Linked DNA regions of Homo sapiens: all the other regions are linked to region 5. The links are contacts of gene promoters, found by promoter capture Hi-C in blood cells and fetal thymus (Javierre and others, 2016). All regions are on one chromosome and are shown on one strand. Each heading gives the region's core, a stretch centred on a gene start or on the middle of the fragment in contact. The rest is flanking DNA. Distances are from core to core; before and after follow the strand shown.

Region 1 (2,700 bases), core at 80-2,579, 180 kb before region 5:
ATAGTTATATATTACTATATAGTACTAGAATCTTAAGAAAAGTATTAATGAATTAAGTAATTAAGAAAAAATATGTTTCCTTATTATAAAAAATAACTAGGACAGGCACAGTGGCTCACACCTACAATCCCAGCACTTTGAGAGGTTGAGGTGGGAGGATCACTTATGGCCAGGAGTTCAAGACCAGCCTAGGGAACATAGGGAGGCCCCATCTCTATAGAACATTTATTTAAAAAGGTAAAATTAGCTGAGTATGGTGGTCCGTAGTCCCAGCTACTCAGGAGGCTGAGGTGGGAGGATCGCTTGAGCCTACGAGGACAAGGCTGCAGTGAGCTATGTTTGAGCGACTACATTCCAGACTGGGCAACAGAGTGACACCCAGTCTCTTAAACAAAACACTAAAACATTTGTAGTGTTTTGTACTATATCATCAGTTTTTATACAACTTACCTGCATCTTACTGCACACTGGGATTAGGTAGTATAATCATCATCATCCTCTTTTGGAGGTGATAACTGAGACTCGGGAAAGTTAACCATCTTGCCAGGCTATGCAGCTTAGTAAGTGTTAGAGCTTAGAACTAAGCCCATTTCACCCAAATTCAAATCCTAATGGTAACTTTCCTTATATTTCGTCCTTGAAATGTATTTTATTAATAAAAAAGTTTATGACTTCATGCTTAAAGGGCTACTATAAAGAATGGGTATTTCTTCAAAGGTTTTGTCATCGTGGTATAAAAATTAATGACCAAATAAATTGTGTCTAGAGGTAAAGTAAATTTATAAGCTACAATTGGTTTTAGTTATTTCTGGGTGGTAACTAAGGTTTTCTTGATTTTGATCATGATCTCAAGATGACTACCCTGTTTCTCATTCAGGAGAAGAAAATGACCAAAGCACTAGAGATGAGTTCCTAGAAGATGGGAGAAAACATTCTTATTCTAAAAATTGTTACTTTTTGGGAGTTATAATAAAAAAGCATATGCATTTCTTTTACTTCATCAATTACCAAGTTCTCCAAAACAGACAGTAGCAGTGTGACCCAGAACATACCGTCAGGAAACTGGTCAGCATCATCATCAAACATGGCTTCCTTGAGGGCAGACTTGTTGAAGGGACTGATGCTATCTGAATAGTTATATGGATTATAGTCTCGAGAGCGTGGAGAGGAGTGAGTAGGCATTGAATGGAGCAATGAAGCTTTATTATCAAGAGCTGTTTGACTTGAGTCAGTAGCATCACCTCCTGCTCTTGGGTCAGACATCCCAGGACCACCACACATCTATCAATGGGAAGTGAAAGCCACAGCAAATTAACTCATTTTTCAAGTATCTATTTAACATTCTAAAAAGATATTTCTCTACTGCTTAAAAGACAATTTTAAAAAGATAACAATAACCAGCTAAAAAATTTAAGTAATGGCAATCAACATTATGAGTTACAATTTATATTCCAGACGTCAAAGCTTAAAAATATAAACTACAGCTGTGAAGGCAAATAAGAACTGTAAAAGAATGCTGCCTCTAATGATTATTACAGTTCCCTTGCAAACAACTTGACCAGACAATATGTACAGTGTGATTACCAGCAACTTCTCCATGTCAGTTAAAGATACAAAAGAACTTTCATAAGCAATACAGTACTACAAGCTGCCAGATTCCATTATTAAGGTAATGGTATATCATACAACAGTATGTCAAAAAAGCATAATAAAATCAAATTTAAAAAGGCTTGCTTTAAGGAGAAAAAAAAAAAAAAGAAAGGCTTAAAAGGCCTGCATAACTTTTGGAAGGATGCCAAAAGAATTTGGGTACATACTTATCAAAATATGAATATGAATATTGATACAAATACTGGTATCAAAATAATTACTACCATGGGTATCAGCATCACCACCATCCACTGGGCAACTATGTGCCAAGCCATTTGCTAGGCACTTTACAAATATTCTTAAAATATTTACTATGCACATATTATATGCCTGGCATTGTTCACAGCATTGGGAATACATCAGTGAGCAAAAGAGAGAACGATGCCTACCCCAGTGGAGTTTATATTTTAGTGGAGGGACAGACCAAAAAAAAAAAAAACTTAATGAACGAATAAAGTATACGACATGTTAGAAGAAGGAATCATGAATGCTGAGGTGGGAGGATGGAGTTCACAGATTAAATAGGATGAGTAGGGTTCACTGAGAAGCCACTTGAATAAACACTTGAAGGAAGTAAGGGAATCAGCCAAGGGGCTATCTGGAGGTAGAGTGTTTCAGGTAGAGAAAACAGCCAATACACAGATCCTGAAGCAGGAACGTGCATAGTAAGTTCAAGGAATAGCAAGGAGGCCAGTGTGGCAGGAGCAGAGTGAACAAGGAGGAAACTAGCAGGAGATGAGGCCAGAGAGGTAACAGAAAAAAAGCCTATTGTATAGACTTTGGTTTTTACTCTGAGACAGAGACCTCCTATAGAGTTGAGTGAGAGTGAGAGTGGACTATAGGAGGTCAAGGGCATAATCAAGGAGGCCAAATTTTAATAATCCAGGTGAGAGAAATGATGAAGATGATGGCTCAAACCAGAAAGGCAGTGGTGAGAATAGGCTGAATTCTGGATACATTCTGCAGTGGAGACAAAAGATTTCCTGACAGATTTGGTATGGAGGATGAGAAAAACAGAGGTCTCAACAACTCTTGTCCATGGATTTTGGC
Region 2 (2,700 bases), core at 24-2,523, 220 kb before region 5:
CACATGTAACATTATTACTGGCTACCTACTGTTCTGATAAAGTGCTGAATTTTAATTGTTTTGGAAGGTTTGCTTTTTAAACATTAACTCTTTGATCCAAGAGTTTTTAACCTGCTAGCCATGGGATTCACGGGATCACAGAACCCTCTGAAACGACATGTAATTGTTTCCATTGTGCATTTTTCTATTTTTTTTAAAACTTTGTCTCTCATGGTTTTATCTGAATGCATTTTTCTTAAGATGAGATTTTACCTAAGTCTCGAGGTGGTTTATAACCCGAGTTAAGAATTATTGTTAAATCTATCTATAACTTAATGTAAAGTGTGTTACCTAGGCTCATTTTCCATTATATGTATATTCTGCTTTTTTGCTATTAAAAGATAAATTTGACCACAGTAAGACAATCCTTAGGGTTTCAGAAATTCTTTAAGTGACGGTGAGTGCTTTCTGCTAAATGGTTCATAAGCCATGATTCAACAATCAGAAGTTATCTTCACCCTTGAGAACAAACTTCTAATTCAAAACAATTATTATCATTTTTATTATTAGAGACACGGTCTTCTCAGTATGTTGCCCAGGCTGGTCTCAAATTCCTGGTCTCAAGTGATCCTCCCACCTCGGCCTCCCAAAGTGATGGGATTACGGGTATGAACCACTTTGCCTGGCCACCTTAGCAGAATGAATTTTAAAGTACTGGTAGTAGCAATCAAATGAGAAAGGCAAGACTTACTTATTTTTTTAAGTCTGAACAATGAATTAGAAAACTTTTATTTTAACACACCAAGTTAAAGTTGCACATTAATTTGGATAATAGAAAGAGAAGAACAAATATTTGATTATCATAGTTCTTAAGGGGAAAAATTTTTAAATGTGCAAGTATTCTATATTTGGAGAGATATACAGTAATCCATTAATATATATAACCACAACAGTCTATTTATTCTTAATAAAACAGTGGTCAGGGGTAAAGATTTGGGTCTGGGATTTGGTAAGGAGTCAGCTAACTATTATAAATAACCAGAAGCTGCAGGCATTTTCTCTCACAGAAACCTACCCATCACCCCAACAAACTGCTGACTTCACCTGAGTGAACATCTAACAAATGTTAGAGTAGAAAAAGATAAAATACAAAACAGAAATAATAAGGGCAAGTTGGATGCTCAAAGCCTGACTTATTAAATGCCAAATAAAAAGCTTACTGTTACAGACATGTAACTAAGTTTTGAAAGATGTACTATGGCCACCATCTCTAAAACACAGCAGCACTACTTACTTTACTGCCAGTAAGTTGACTGAGATGTGGTTTTAGTTCATCACCAATTACCGCATGAACAGCCACCAGGCAGAAGACACAAGCTTTCCGAACACTGCTCTCTGAATTATCATAACCCTACGGAGAGAAGTCCACTGTTAGTACTCCAGAGAAGTCCACTGTTAGTACTCCCTTTTTAACAGGGTCAGAAGATGCAGCTGAAAGATGAAATCTCGAGCATACTAAGGAGAGAAAAGTGCAGATCAAAGTTAACTTTTTAACCTTTTCAAGCATAGACAATGCCCTTCTCTCCCTTCACTTCCCCTACTGCGCCCTCACTGTTAGCCCTCTATATCAGGTTCTTACTTAGTCTGGAAAGCTGCACTTCTCTGACTCTGAGGCTGCTCACTTGCCAATTCACCCTGAAAAAAGTCTCCAGACTAACTTTCCTAAAGCATTAGGTTTTAAGGCAGTCAGCACTCCTCACTATCCGATAAAACCTAAATTCATTGGTTTGGTAGCTCAAGGTAGTCACATAATCCAGGCCCGATTAAGTTTTACATCTGTTCCATCCCTGCAATTACTTTCTCTAATAAATCTAGTCTATGTAAACTATTCCCCTATGCTTTTACTGTGCCTTTAATAACCTAATTTTATTTAAAAAATTAACTTGTTTCTAATTGACAAATAATAATTGTATATATTTATGGGGTATAATGTGATGTTTCAATACATGTACACTGTGGAATGACCAAATCAGGCTAATCAACATATCCATCACCTCAGATACTTATCATTTCTTTGTGGTAACATTTAAAATGCATTTTCTTTTATAATTGCTACTTTGAAATATACATTATTAACTAGTTACTGTGCTGTGTAATACGTAGCTAGAACCTAATACTCTTTAACTGAAACTTTGTACCTTTTGACCAACATCTTCCCTTTCTCTGTCCATCTCTCCCACTTACGCTTTTGATCACACTACTTACTCTATTTCAATACTCTACAGCAATCTTATCCATGAAATATTTTTGAATGAATTATCTGAATGAATATGCACATTTTACTCCAGGGAAAAAATAGAGCTCATCTCCACTAAAATCCTAATCATTTTATCTTTCTAAAACAACTGCAGAAACATTAAAATATCAATAGATATCTAGCTAAAAGAAGTACATTATTCCTAAGTCATGCAATCAAACTGTTAATTTTATTTTCCATCATTTTAATATAATTGCAATTATAATGTAAATTAATTTTTCTATATGGTCTTTATAATAATGATATGAGGCATTCATTTAGTATGCTTCCTAATTTAACCATTCTAGAGTATTGTAAGTTTACATCTTCCTCCCCAATAACCTCCTTCCTGCTAAATTTTTCCTATTACAAATAACACTGCAAAGAGTATGGCATTCAATGTTTAAATATTTAAGTGCCTGGTA
Region 3 (2,700 bases), core at 145-2,644, 160 kb before region 5:
AAGTATGGCTCCAATATAACTTTTCCCTGCTATTCTAAACACTGGTGTAAGAGTTGAAAAGTGATTTTCTTTCTTTCTTTTTTTTTTTTTTGAGACGGAGTCTCACTCTGTCATCCAGGCTAGAGGGCAGTGGCGCAGACTCGGCTCACTGCATCCTCTGCCTCCTGGGTTCAAGCGATTCTCCTGCCTCAGCCTCCCGAGTAGTTGGGATTACAGATGCCTGCCACCACGCCTGGCTAACTTTTTGTATTTTTAGTAGAGACATGGTTTCACCATGCTGGCCAGCCTGGTCACAAACTACTGACCTCAGATGATCCACCTACCTTGGCCTCCCAAAGTGCTGGGATCACAGGCGTGAGCCACCGTGCCCAGCCAAAAAGTGATTTTCCCTCATGGATTTGCTAATACATCTATTATCTATATTAAATACATATTTATAAATAATTTAGGCTTTTAGAGAAACAATCTGTGATTCCAGTTTCCAGCATAATGTTTTCTAATAGGAAAGTTAATTTTAATTTGTGCATATCTCATTTCAATCTTCGCTTTGTCTTTCTCTTCAAGTCTCCTGCAACTTATTCTCTCTGAACTCAACTATCAACCCCTTATTTTTATTTATTTATTTTTTTGAGACCAAGTCTCACTCTGTCTCCCAAGCTGGAGTGCAGTGGCATGATTTTGGCTCACTGCAACCTCCGCCTCTCCGGTTCAAGTGATTCTCCTGCCTCAGCCTCCCGAGTAGCTGGGACTACAGGTGCCCAACATCACCCCTGGCTAATTTTTGTATTTTCAGTAGAGACAGGGTTTCTCCATGTTGGCCAGGCTGGTCTCAAACTCCTGACCTCAAGTGATCCGCCTGCCTCAGCCTCCCAAAGTGCTGGGATTACAGGTGTGAGCCACGGTGCCCAGCCTCACCCTTACTTCTTAAGCTGGTTTAGACCTTCATTTGCACTGGTTCATGAAACATCTCTATATATATTATCTACTTTTTTCTTTCTTTCCTTTCTCTTTCAATGGACAGGGTCTCACTCTGTCTCTTAAAAAAAGAGGCTCCCAGGCTGGAGTGCAGTGGTGTGATTAGAGCTCACTGTAACCTCACTCCTGGGTTCATGCGATCCTCTTGCCTCACCTCCTGAGTAGCTAGGACTATAGGCATGAACTACCACACCTAGTTAACTCCACATACATTTCAGTAGCACTTGAACACCACTACAGGTACCTATATCATAACTTTTATTACTGTTTAGAGTTTATTATATATTATAGTTAATAATGATAAAATTACAAGCTTTATATTCCCAGGAACACCTAGCACACTGCCTTGGTCATAAAATGAGTTAAAAAATATCTATTAATAATATCAAGTAAATTATTCTTCTGCAGGTCACTTTTCAAAATCAAACAGATGAAATCTCTTTCCCCAAGCAGCTCTAAGAAAACAACATTATATTGAGTGTAAGTTGTGAAAGGAAAATAAAACGGCCTATGCCAAAAGGAAAGTTAAGCTTGGGAACTCAGTCATTCAGAAAACTGACTCCCATTTGTTCATAAACAGACAGCTGCAAGATAGAAGGCTACATAGTTCTTCAGGTGGTCTCCCTCATGCTGACAATGTAAATTAACAGTTTATCTTCACAGGTAGAGGACAACGATGAGACTAGAAATCATCCCCCACTCACCCAGAGACAAATACATTTACTTCTTCCTCTACTCTGTGTTTACTTTCTCTTAGGTAAGATGCAGATTTACTGAGCACGAGATGAATGCCTGACTGTTCCTCTTTCCCCTCAAGCTGGCTCTTTCTCTTTTAAATATTAAAGTCCTCAAAACCCTCTCTGGAAGAATGAACAGGCTTTCTTCTTGTGTCTCTTTCTCCTGGATGCATCCTCAATCTTGGCAAACTAAACCTCTAAATTGATTGAGACTTGTCTCAGACACTTTTCGGTTTACAAAGTCAGCCCTGATAAGAAACATAATTGTGATTCTGAGGCACAATTGCATTCAGAAACTTAAGGGAAAAATCAATCCTGGGCAGTAACGCTTGTAGAAATATATTTCGTGCAGGATAGAGCAGAAAAATATAGGACTCGTATAAGCACATATGCTTGTTATTTCCCTGACTTTAATCTCATTTAATAAAACTCACTAAAAAAAAAAAACCTTTAGCAAAGAATTCAGGAGCTATTCTTTTACATTTTTTCTTTTATGTAAAATTTAATAATCACTTTAAATCACAAATTGGAATCCATTTAGTTTTCATATTAACTGAAAAATGTGTGTATATAACAAACGAGAAAGTTAATTATAACTCCAAATGTTATGCATACATCAGAAAAAAAAAGAAAGTTACTATTTCAGTTAAGGATAATTGAAGAAAGGGACTGAGATTAAATTTAAAAAATTTTGCTTAGTTAATACATAGGCAAAACTGACATTTTGCCTAAAATACCCGTTAAAATGCCTGACACTTAAAAAAAAAAAAAGTAATGGGAAATCACAAACATAAAATTAGATAAGACTTTATAGAGTGAGTTTGCATTACCAGCTTAGGGTTAGATGGCAATAATGTGATGCCTTCCAAACGTGTATCACCATTAAGTTTCTCCAAAAGACTTAGAGTCTGGCATTGCATTTAAATAACATTTGAAATCAAATGTGTGCATGCGTAAAAGGCTTACAAAGGTTAGTAGTTGAATACAG
Region 4 (2,700 bases), core at 91-2,590, 130 kb before region 5:
CCAAGAGAATTTGCTGAAAGGATAAAAATTCAAGAAATATTGATAATACAGAGAAAACTGTGACAGTATGGCAGGTTCTACGCTCAAAGGAAATAGACCGAGGAAGATTTAAATATAATTATAACCTGGAAAAAAAAAGGTATACTACATATATGAGCACTAAATGGTAAATCATCTAAAATATACTTTCAGTTTTGGAGGTATAAGACACTATGTTTAATAAGGAGAACATTATTATAATTTTTAGAACACAAATGGTATACAAGATTTCCAAAGAAATCACTTATCTGACAATCCATTTCATATGGCTATCATGTTCTACGTGAATAAGCTATATACAGTCATATGTCACTTAACAATGGGATACATTCTGAGAAACGTGTTGTTGGGTGATTTTATCATTGTGTGAACATCATAGAGTGTACTTACACAAACCTAGATGGTATAGCCTACTACAGATCTATATGGTATATAGCTTATTGCTCCTAGGCTACAAATCCTATACAGTATGCCATTAACAATACTGTAGGCAACTGTAACACAATGGTAAATATTTGTGTATCTAAAAATACCTAAACACAGAAAAGGTACAGTAAAAATATAGTATTATAATTTTTTAAAGCTTTATTTCCAATGGTTTTTGGGGTAGAGGTGGTGTTTGGTGACATGAATAACTTCTCTAGTGGTGATTTCTGAGATTCTGGTGCACCTGTCACCCGAACAATGTACACTGTACCCAATACGCAGTCTTTTGTTCCTCATCTCCTTCCCAGTATTATAATTTTACGGGACTACTGTCACATATGTGGTCACTGATTAAATGTGGTTATGCAGAGCATGACTGTATTAAAAAAAAACCCGGTAATTCTATCACTATTTTTTGTTAAGTATATAATAATGATAATCTGTTTCATTTTAAAATAGTTTGCCTGCTGAGATTTCTCTGAATGGTACAGCAAAGCTATCTGTCTTACTATTAGACGTATTTTTAAACTTAACAAAATTAAATTTTAAATGCTGACAAAATTGGGCCAGCTGAAAAAGAAACTTGTTTTTTGCTATTTGTCTTCAAATAGCAAAGCGCTCTTGGGTAGTGACATTCTGGGTTATAGAAGTCCCAAGGGTAGAAGGGGAGTAAGGGGAAAACATCAAATGAATCAGATCCTTTTCTTTCTTTTCTTTTTTCCCCCCCGAGACAGAGTCTTGCTCTGTCACCCAGGCTGGAGTGCAGTGGCGCGATCTCGGCTCACTGCAACTTCCGCCTCCCGGGTTCAAGTGATTCTCCTGCCTCAGATTCCTGAGTAGGTGGGATTATAGGCTCCTGCCATCGCACCTGGTTAATTTTTGTATTTTTAGTAGAGACAGGATTTCACCATGTCGGCTAGGCTGGTCTCGAACTCCTGACCTTGTGATCTGCCTGCCTCGGCCTACCAAAGTGCTGGGATTACAGGCCTGAGCCACCACGCCTGGCCTCTTTTCAAATGAGTAATTTTCAGTTTTGGAAGGTGGACATGTGGTCAGGAACACAGGTAGAGTTAGTAAAATCTTTTCAGAGACTGTGCATGGGTTTAAAAAAAGTTTTAAAAACATGTTTTTAAACTAGAAATGCAAGGGTTAAATTTTAAGGAGATAAGCTCCCTGTCAATCAAAGCACTTTATGTCTACGTTGAATAGAAAAAGTACTAGATAAGAACTCCAAGATATAATCTAAATGTAGATTCAGAAAAGTAACAGAAAAACTAAAGTTGCAATTAAATAAATCTTCATGAAAGCAACCTTTTCCCTTCGTGGGCACTACTTCTACCCAGTAAGAGGGCTGTATGATTATATGTTATACAGTCTTACCCAATCAGGCTTCATTTCCACAGAGACTCAAATGCCAATGGGACAAGCACAGGATGTCAAAAAAGAGAGGGGCACTGTGTAAAGCAGGGAGTAGTAAGATGACTGATCAAGAGGGGGGGTGCCTGCCCTTTCCTAAAGTGAGAGGTGACTTTTTAGTTCTAGCCACCTTTGTCTTGAGGTAATAGTGGATAGGTCTTGGGATTTTTCAAAAATGAAAGCTTTGATATTTCCAGATTTTTAGCATGTTCTATAGGCCAAATAATACATAAATGGAGACAGACTAGACATGGTCCATGGGCTGGCGATCTGTGATTCTTTTTTTTCTTTCTTTTTTTTTTGAGTCGGAGTCTTGCTCTGTCGCCCAGGCTGGAGTGCAGTGGTGTGATCTTGGCTCACTGCACGCTCTGCCACCCAGGTTCACGCCATTCTCCTGCCTCAGCCTCCTGTGTAGCTGGGACTACAGGCACCCGCCACCACGCCCAGCTAATTTTTTGTATTTTTAGTAGAGACAGGGTTTCATCGTGTTAGCCAGATGGTCTCGATCTCCTGACTTCATGATCCGCCTGCCTCGGCCTCCCAAAGTGCTGGGATTACAGGCGTGAGCCACCGCACCCGGCCGATCTGTGATTCTTACTACAGTTTTCTTGGAATGGTCTTGCTGAATACAATTTATATTAATGCTTAATTCTTAAACTTTACCAGCATACAAAATGAAACTTATTTCCTATTAGTGATAACAATATTGTAAAACAAAGCAGTGTTTCCAATGAAATTAACAATTTACTGTCTGTATAGAAGGAATTCTAAATTATTGTAAGGAAATTATTCAAGTGTATTTTAAAATAGCTCATTTGA
Region 5 (2,700 bases), core at 157-2,656:
TTTTTGAATAAAAGGTTTCAAAGTACAGCCTATTCGCTGGATCATGAGAATATGTTACTAAGAAGAATCACTTCATCCATGGGAAGCTGCAGTCAGCATTTTAAAGCAACACTGCCACCAGAAGACAAGAAAGAAAAGTAACTACTAACGACTACGGGGCAAGTTAAATACAAAATATTTACCTGGCCTCCCAACGCGGCTACATTACACCCTGCCTACCACCAACTCTTCAGAAAGGCTCATTCTTTCTCGCACCTCATCTTTGTAACTTTTTCCCCCCCAGCATTAGCCTATCTACTAAGACACATCAACCTAAAATCGTATCCTAATGTCCTATCTGTTGGTCTGGGTAGTGTTTACACAGGTGAACACAAATGTCGAAGTCTTTCACTGATTTTTTTTTCAAAATAAGTGATCAACATTGTGTCCTAGTAACTCCGCAACGTGTCACGGAATCGCTGAATTTGTCATTGTCCACAAGTGTAGAAAAATGTGGTCACAAGTCAGTCCTCGGCTCGCGTACGAAGAGGCGGTCTGCCCAGTGGGGACGCGGGACCCCCCTGTTTCCCCTATTTTTATTTATTTTTTACTTTTTTTGAGACAGAGTCTCACTCTGTCGCCCAGGCTGGAGTGCAGTGGCTCGATCTCGGCTCACTGCAACCTCTGCCTGCTAGATTCAAGCGATTCTCCTGCCTCAGCCTCCTGGGTAGCTGGGATTACAGGCGCCCGCCACCACGCCCGGCTAATTTTTGTATTTTTAGTAGAGACGGGGTTGCACCATGTTGGTCAGGCTGGTCTCGAACTCCTGACCTCGTGATCCGCCCGCCTGTGCTTCCCAAAGTGTGTTTCCCCTCTTAAGCAGTGGTTCGGACGGGAGCTTTCCCGGCCCGGCGCTCGCGTCCGGGATTAAAGGGCTGCCGCGGAGGGCGTGACCAGCCCAGCCTCGCCGCCGTCGCTTACCCGGTAGTTGCTCGAACCCACCCAGCCGGTGAGCGCGTCGACTGTCTTGCCTAGGCGGCCCAGGTCCTCCTCCAGGTCCGAGATGGCGCCGGGGGCGCCAAGGTAGAGCAGGAGCTCCTGGCCGACCTGCAGCCGGCCGCCGACGTCCTTCTGCTGCACCTGGGCGCAGAAGTACTCCATGCTGCGGGGCTCCATGGCTGCGGCCGCCCGCCCGCCTGCCAGTCTGTGAGCGGCCAACTTTCGCCGAGAGCCGCCCAGCCTCCAGTGCGGGTCCCCGCGGGAGCGGGCGGGACTCACTTAGCCCGCCAGGGGCGCGGCTTGCGGGGCGCAGCGGGCGGCGGGAGGAACGCCAAGCGCCCAGCCGCCCCCAAACTAGTCAAACTCGGCGCCCCCCGATCCCCAGCCCGCTTCAGAGGCCGCGGCCGCGGGCGACGTCAGCACGCGCGTGACGTCAGCACGACGCCGGCGAGGGCCCTCCAGTCCGGCTAGCGTTTTGCTGCGGAGGTGGTGGAGGTGGCTGCGGAAACCGCTGGGAGCGATAGGACCTCTAGGGAGACTTGGGGTCCGAGTTGGGCCGAGCCCCCTGGGAGGCGGGCCGTTCTTTGCTAGCCGCTGTCAGGGCACCCTGCCCTCGCCCTGTGAAATGTGGAACGTTTCCAAGTTTGCCTCCACTTGTATTCAACACTTAGGAAAGTACTTGGCATCCCCCTTTCCCGCCCCCACTGCCGGTTTAAAAAAAAAAAAAAAAAAGAATACACTCCTGACTTCTGCTTCCAGCCACCACCACAGTCACTGTGTAATACTTAAAAAAACAAAACAAAACAAAACTTAGGTTTGCCTAAAGTAAAACGCACAGATTTTCAGCGTACACTTCATGAGTTTCGGCAAATGTATTCACCCGTGGAACCGCCACCCCAGTGAGGGTACAGCACGTTTCCAACACCCCAGGAAGTCCCAGGACACTTCCCAATTATCTGCTCTTCCCTAGGCAATTCTAATTTGATTTCTAGCATGGTAACATAGTTTTCCCTGTTCCTGAACTTCATACAGTCTGTGCTTCTTTGGAGTCTGGTTTCTTTTAGCATAACGTTTGGGGTCCATCCAGCGCTGTTGGTGTCTCAGAAGTCCATTCCTTTTTATTGCTTTCCATTCTGTGGAATCACTACCATTTGTCGATCCATTCACTTGTTGGTAGATATTTGGGTTGTTTCCTATTTTTTATAATTATGAATAAAGCTGCTACAACGGTTAGTGCACAAGTTTTTGTGTGGATATATTTTCTTCTCTCATGGGTAAATAAATACCAAGGACTGGCATTACTAGGTCTTGTAAGTTGTATGTTTAACTTTAGAAGAACCTGCCAAATTGTTTACCAAAGTGACTGGATCATATTAAATCCCCACCAGCAATGCTTGAGAGTTCCAGTTGCTCCACAATATTTGATATGGTCAGGGTTATTAGTTTTAGCCATTCTGGTGGGGGTAAAGTTGTCTAATACATTCCAAAAGCACACTGTGTTTATCTTCTTGACAATTATTCCCAATCACAACAAAATGATTATTTATGTAATATCTTTCTCTTCTAATACACAGAAAGCTCCAGGAACCTTTGTGTTTTCCTAGGGTGGTGCCTAGCAAATAATGGGTGGCCAATTTAAGTTAAATGAGTGAATGAATTCAACAAAAATTGATATTTGAAATATTCACAATAACTAAGAATAAACAAACTCAAAATTCAAAG

What was found. The method cuts DNA at HindIII sites, captures the fragments that hold promoters and counts their contacts. A CHiCAGO score of 5 or more calls a contact.
Region 1: a fragment that was not itself captured here is called in contact with the fragment with the promoter of CLASP2 in region 5 in 1 of 17 cell types (M1 macrophages); the score reaches 7.1 in M1 macrophages.
Region 2: a contact is called between a fragment that was not itself captured here and the fragment with the promoter of CLASP2 in region 5, in 3 of 17 cell types (M1 macrophages, non-activated CD4 T cells and M2 macrophages). The highest score is 6.5, in M1 macrophages.
Region 3: a contact is called between a fragment that was not itself captured here and the fragment with the promoter of CLASP2 in region 5, in 1 of 17 cell types (M1 macrophages). The highest score is 5.8, in M1 macrophages.
Region 4: a fragment that was not itself captured here is called in contact with the fragment with the promoter of CLASP2 in region 5 in 2 of 17 cell types (M1 macrophages and naive CD4 T cells); the score reaches 5.2 in M1 macrophages.

Annotation. Positions count from the first base shown.
Region 1 is chr3:33,534,181-33,536,880 of GRCh38, forward strand. It overlaps CLASP2 (cytoplasmic linker associated protein 2), which reads right to left. Exons shown (of 39, transcript NM_001365631.1): 34 at 1,053-1,281. Among named protein-coding and RNA genes, the nearest start is that of UBP1, 95 kb to the left of the region's middle. The HindIII fragment of the contact is 265 bases long and covers 1,198-1,462 here.
Region 2 is chr3:33,500,379-33,503,078 of GRCh38, forward strand. It overlaps CLASP2 (cytoplasmic linker associated protein 2), which reads right to left. Exons shown (of 39, transcript NM_001365631.1): 38 at 1,274-1,390. Among named protein-coding and RNA genes, the nearest start is that of UBP1, 61 kb to the left of the region's middle. The HindIII fragment of the contact is 162 bases long and covers 1,193-1,354 here.
Region 3 is chr3:33,556,363-33,559,062 of GRCh38, forward strand. The region is part of intron 29 of CLASP2 (cytoplasmic linker associated protein 2); the gene reads right to left. Among named protein-coding and RNA genes, the nearest start is that of UBP1, 120 kb to the left of the region's middle. The HindIII fragment of the contact is 217 bases long and covers 1,287-1,503 here.
Region 4 is chr3:33,584,961-33,587,660 of GRCh38, forward strand. The region is part of intron 21 of CLASP2 (cytoplasmic linker associated protein 2); the gene reads right to left. Among named protein-coding and RNA genes, the nearest start is that of CLASP2, 130 kb to the right of the region's middle. The HindIII fragment of the contact is 1,441 bases long and covers 621-2,061 here.
Region 5 is chr3:33,716,848-33,719,547 of GRCh38, forward strand. It overlaps CLASP2 (cytoplasmic linker associated protein 2), which reads right to left and starts at 1,407. Exons shown (of 39, transcript NM_001365631.1): 1 at 961-1,407. The coding sequence starts at 1,155. RefSeq lists a silencer at 1,139-1,478 and an enhancer at 1,679-1,768. The HindIII fragment of the contact is 12,344 bases long and covers 1-2,700 here.